2 separate regions of the Homo sapiens genome follow, and region 2 is linked to region 1. The links are contacts of gene promoters, found by promoter capture Hi-C in blood cells and fetal thymus (Javierre and others, 2016). All regions are on one chromosome and are shown on one strand. The core of a region is centred on a gene start or on the middle of the fragment in contact, and the rest is flanking DNA. Distances in the headings are between cores, read along the strand shown.

Region 1 (3,057 bases), core at 333-2,832:
TTTTTTTTTTAATTTGAGACAGAGTCTCACACTGTAGCTCAGGCTGGAGTGCAATGGCTCGATCTCCACTCACTGCAACCTGCGCCTCCTGGTTCAAGCAATTCTCCTGCCTCAGCCTCCCGAGTAGCTGGGATTACAGGCACCCGCCACCATGCCCGGCTAATTTTTTTTGTATTTTCAGTAGAGACAGGGTTTCACTATGTTGGCCAGGCTGGCCTTGAACTCCTGACCTCGTGATCCGCCCGCCTCGGCCTCCCAAAGTGCTAGGATTACAGGTGTGAGCCACCGCGCCCGGCCTAAGAACAGTTTAATTTTTAAGACCAGGAAGCAAACACAGAAACCAAATACATGGTTTTTTGTTTTCTGTTTGTTTTTTCTTTTGCAGCTGTGAGGAATTTTACTCAAATTAGATAGGCCTTGTTACCCATAATTTGGAATTCTCACTTGGATTTGACCAAGTGAAGTAGAGTTGGTCAATGGGAAAAAGACAAACAAAATAAAAAAAAACCCAACAATATGATCACTGAGCACTCTAATGGTAAGCAGAAATTAAGACCAGCTGGTTGTTAACTTTAGCCAAGACAAAAATCCCTATTCAGCTACTTACCTAGGGGTGCGTCTCAGGCTGAAAACGGCTGTCTACCATCCCAGAAGTAGGAAAAAAACCCCTCATCTTCCCTGTTGGAAGTGAGCTCAAACTCCATAAAAGAGTTACCTGCCTTCCCTCGTCATGGAAGCAGGAAAACTTGCCTTCCTTGTTGGAAGCAAGTAAAACTCCAAAATAATAATAATAATAATAATAATAATAATAATAATAGAGGGAGTTGTACAACAAAATGAACTTTAGATCTCGACCAAATTTTGGGAGATCAGGGATTCTCTGGAGGGGGTGCTCCTAGACCTTAGCAAATTGTCCTGTTGGTTTGAGCCATGGAGTTAGCTCATGTTGGTACCAAGCATGGATAGGAGATTTGTCAAAGATCAGAGGTATCTCCACTCACAATCCCTCCGTGGTTACCATCCTTCATTCAGTAAATATTTACGGACTGATTACCATACACTAGGCACTATTCCAGACATTGGAGATACAATGATGAGCATAAAAAACGGTCTAGATAAGAACTGAGGTCTCCAGACATACTTTATGCCCACTCAGTTTTGTCTTTTGCCCTAGTTGCTAAACAAAACTTAACTTTGCTGTGCGGTGCGACTTCGTTAACTTAAAATTACAGGCTGTCAGCTATGACCGCTAGACTCTAAGAAAGTCCAGTGGAAATCCTTCAATGAAAAGAATCTGTTCTTGGGTGGAAGCCCCGCTCATGCAGGAGGAACAGAGGGCTTCCATTCTCGCGTCACACAACTGAGGGTCAACCCCTTGCTCCCTGCAGTAAGCCTGATTAGTGGGCGGAGCTTCCTTCAGGATCGCAAGAAAGAAAGGAGGAAGGGGACCCCGCCTCCTACGTGCTCGCGGGGGGGGGCGGGGTCGGTGGACTGGGCGTGAGTTAATTGGCTGGGGGGCGGGGCACCACGGGTTGGCTCCGCCCAGGCGCTCGCGCGGATCCCGGGTGGAATGACGGGAGGGAGTCCCGGCAGCTCCTACCTCCCAGCGATGGCGTCGCTGTGCCGCGCCCAGTCCCCAGCCTGCCGGCCGGTACTCACCGCTACCCGGAGTTCGCTCAGACGGTGAGATTTGGGGCGGGTCCGAGGCAGCGGCGGGACGCTACCTGCGACCGGGACCATGAGGAGCTGCCAGACCCGTGGGGCCGGTAACGAGAGCAGTCGCGGCACCTGCTGAGAGGAAAGAGGGAGCGGTCCGGCGCGGCTGGGGCGCGGCAGAGGCTTGCCCGATCCTCGGCCATGTCACTGCTCTGCGTGCGCGGTGAGTGCGCGGACTGAGGCGGGGAGGCGGGGTGTCGGCGTAGAGGTCCCCGCACCCTTCCAGTGGACGTCCGGTGACCGTCTCACCCAAACTTTACATCCCGTCCGTGCTTTGGGGGTCTATTATTTTGGCAATCACTTAACAATCACTTGAGTTCTTTCCACTTTCTTGTTTTCCCCCAAGCTCCTGCAAGGGACGATTAGCTCTCCATTCTGGTAGCCATGTGACAATGTTGTTGGACTGCAGGCTCAGATCCTATTAAACAGTGACTGGGGTTCTCTAGTGAGAGTGGACGAGTTAGAAGACCGCGGATGGTTGGTGCCTGTGAATGGTGGGCAGCCTCTCATTCTTTTCCTCCTCCTCGCACCGTAACGCTACAGTATGCTTAGTAGCAGGTTCTTTTTATCACACTTTGAATGCGTTAGTGGTACAGCTGTCACATCCCTTCTATTGCTTGTCTTGTCCCCTGCCACTTCCCTGAACACTAACCGGTAGTATAGGCTAAGATTATTCTTCTGTTCCACTTGGGAGGATGTGGTGACTGCTTTTGAGGATAAGAGGTATGATTTATTTTTATTTTTATTTTAGCTTGCCTCACAGTAACTCAAGGTGAAGGGCCATTATTGCTTTTCCCCTGAGGACACTTGACCCATCTAAGAAGATATCTTAAAGCAAGAGCTTTGGGGTTTAAGATGAGGCATGGTACGCGAACTAAGTTCTATGTGGGTAGAGACTGTTTCTTATTAGTTTTTGTATTCCTGGTGTCTGACGTAGTAGAAGCTTAATGCTGGTTTTGAATGAATGCAAGTACTGTGACTTCAGAGAGATTATCTGATCAGGAAAACACAGGGTTTGGATTAGCCATTGAATTTGATCTCGGGAAATTCAGGTTACAGCCTATCATATCTGATGTGTCTTGATTATGAATGAGAGAGCATTTATCAACTAGAGCCTTTACCTGATATCTTTTACTGGAGAGTTCATATTTCTTTTGGCTCTACAGATTAGAAGCATTGTTGTTGTTTGTGATTTCTCCAATAACGATGTTTCCCCCAGCTACTGGCAGATGAAACTGCTTTGCTCTGTTCTCTTCCACTATTTTGTTGAATCTGCATTAACCAAAATGGATTTGGCCATTTCCCGGGATTATGAGATATACAGTTTTTCTTCTTTCATGG
Region 2 (3,057 bases), core at 374-2,873, 260 kb after region 1:
CATCTATGCATAGCATTTCTGGAACACTTCAAGGTGACTGTATCCCCATAGGAGGAGCACTCTCCAGGTTCAGGCTTGCACAAGAGGTAGAGTCACAATTCTTCCTTACTTGGAACATCAACATTCCTGCAGATGAAAAGAGGTACCTGTCTGATCTGAATAGCTAGAACACAGTCAGGAGTGTGTCCTGCTGGCCTGGCAGGGGAGCTGAGGTGGCTCCCACCCTTCTGCCTGATAAAACCTCAGTGTTTCTCACTGAGAGCTCCCCCAGCCACCTCTGACAAACTTGGGACCTCTGCCCACCATTGGGTACTGCATTTACCCACCTGCTTCAGCCACAACTGGTTTCTACACAGGGATACCTCCTCTGCTGGCCTGAAGCCCAGACTGTTCAACCAGTAAATAAAATACTAGGGAAAAATAAGTAAACAAAAAGGTGTATACCACAGGGGAATGAAATAAGTAAGCTTCAAGAGAACTCTGCTGTTCCAACCCCCTGTGAGACAGTAAACTTGCGCACATACTGTGCACATTGTTACTACAAACTAGCATCTGAGAAGGCCATCATACAAAGACTGCCAGTAACCAAGGAACTTACGTAGAATCTTCACCCCTGAAAGCACCAAGAGCCGAATTAGGCTACAGTAAACATTAAAGTCAGATCCTTAAGAGGGTAAAAAGAAATTTTTAAAAAACACAATCAAAATAATTCTATAATAACTAGAAGAAATGGTCTACCCAAAAGAGAAGGAACCAGAAAAATAATTCTGGTAACATGGCAAAACAGGGTTCTGTAGCACCCCCAAAAGATCACATTAGCTCTCCAGTGATGGATCCAAACAAAGATGAATTTTTTTTTTTCTTTTGTGATGGGGTCTCCCTCTGTCACCCAAGCTAGAGTGCAGTGGTGTGATCTTGGCTCACTGCAACCTCCGCCTCCTGGGTTCAAGCGATTCTCCTGCCTCAGCCTCCCCAAGTAGCTGGGACTACAGGTGTGTGCCACCACTCCCAGCTATTTTTGTGTGTGTATTTTTAGTAGAGACAAGGTTTCACCATGTTGGCCAGGCTGGTCTCGAACTCTTGACCTCAGGTGATCCACCCGCCTTGGCCTCCCAAAGTGCTGGGATTACAGGTGTGAGCCACCACACCCAGCCAAGATGAAATATTTGAAATACCAGATAAAGAATTCGAATGGTTGATTATTAAGCTTTGATTATTTCCTTGAGTACAAGGAGATACCAGAGAAAGGTGAAAGCCAACACAAAGAAATTAAAAAAAAAAAATTCAGGATATGAATGAAAAATTTTCTAAAGAGATAGAGATCTTGAAGAATAGCTAATCAGAACTTCCATAAATGAAAGACACATTTAGGGAATTACAAAATGCAATGGAAAGATTTAAAAATAGACTAGAACAACCAGAAGAAAGAATTTCAGAGCTTGAAGACAAGGCTTTCAAATTAACCCAATCAGAAAAAATAAAAAAGAATAAAAATAAATGAACAAAGTCTCCAAAAATATGGAATTAAGTAAAATGGCCAAACCTAATAATAATTGATGTTCCTGAAGGAGAAGAAAAAGCAAAAAGTTTGGAAAACTTATTTGAAGGAATAAATGAGGAAAACTTCTCTGACCTTGCTAGAGATTTAGATATCCAAATACAAGAAGCGTAAAGAAATCCTGGGAGATTCCTTGCAAAAAGGACATTACCAAGCATATAGTCATCAGGCTATCTAAAGTCGATGTGAAGGAAAGAATTCTAAGAGCAGTGAGACAAAACCATCAGTTAACCTGTAAAGGAAAACCCATCAGACTAACAGAAGACTTCTCAGCAGAAACCTTACAAGCCAGAAGGGATTGGGGTCCTATCTTTAGCCTCCTTAAACAGAGTAACTGTCAGCCAAGAATTTTGTATCTAGCAAAATTAAGTTTCATAAATGAAGGAGAAATAAAGTCATTTTCAGACAAATGATGAGGGAATTTGTCACTACCATACCAGCCCTACAAGAAATTCTAAAAAGAGTTCTAAATCTTGAAACAAAAGCTTGATAGGCAGCAAAATAGGACCTCTGGAAAGCATAAAACTAACAAAACCTATGAAACAATAACACAATGAAAAATACAAAGTATCTAGATAACAACATGATGAATGGAACAGTACCTCACCTCTCAATATTAATGTCACATATAAATTGCTTAAATGCTCCACTTAAATGATACAGATTGGCAGAATGGATTAAAAAAATCACAAACCAAATATCTGCTGTCTGCAAGAGATTCACCTAACATGTAAGGATTTATATAAACTCAAGGTAAAGGGGTAGAAAAAGATACTCCATGTAAATGGAAACCAAAAGCAAGCAGGAGTGGCTATTCTTATCTAAAATAAAATAGACCTTAAAGCAACAACAGTGAAAAAAAGACAAGGTAATTATACAATGATATAAGGCTCAATCCAACGAGAAGGTATTACAATCCTAAATTTATATGCACCTAACGCTGGAGCTCCCAGGTTCGTAAAACAGTTACCGCTAGACCTACTAAATGAGATGGATAGCAACATAATAATAGTGGGGAACTTCAGTATTCCACTGACAGTGCTAGAGAGATCATCAAGACAAAGTCAACAACAACAAAAAAAATTGACTTTAAATGACACTCTCAAACAAATGGACCTAACAGATATTTACAGAACGTTCTATCCAAGATATGCACAATATACATTCTTCTCATCAATACATTTAACATTCTCCAAGATAGACCATATGATAGGCCACAAAACAAGTCTTAATAAATTTATAAACATCAAAATTATATCAAGTATTTTCTCAGACCACAGTGGAATAAAAGTAGAAATTAACTGCAAAAGAAACCCTCAAAACTATACAAATACATGGAAATTAAACAATCTGCTCCTGAATTATTTTTGAGTTAACAATGAAATCAAGATGGAAATTTAAAAATTCTTTTAAATGAATGACAGTAGTGACACAGATTATTAAAACCTCTTGAGATACAGCAAAAAAAAAAGTGCTAATGGGAACGTTTATAGTGCTAA

Evidence for each region. The method cuts DNA at HindIII sites, captures the fragments that hold promoters and counts their contacts. A CHiCAGO score of 5 or more calls a contact.
Region 2: a contact is called between a fragment that was not itself captured here and the fragment with the promoter of UNC13B in region 1, in 1 of 17 cell types (M2 macrophages). The highest score is 6.6, in M2 macrophages.

What each region holds. Positions count from the first base shown.
Region 1 is chr9:35,160,427-35,163,483 of GRCh38, forward strand. UNC13B (unc-13 homolog B) reads left to right here and starts at 1,583. Exons shown (of 40, transcript NM_001371189.2): 1 at 1,583-1,879. The coding sequence starts at 1,858. RefSeq lists a silencer at 1,449-1,578. The HindIII fragment of the contact is 6,795 bases long and covers 1-2,657 here.
Region 2 is chr9:35,416,667-35,419,723 of GRCh38, forward strand. It overlaps the pseudogene ATP8B5P. Among named protein-coding and RNA genes, the nearest start is that of RUSC2, 72 kb to the right of the region's middle. The HindIII fragment of the contact is 836 bases long and covers 1,206-2,041 here.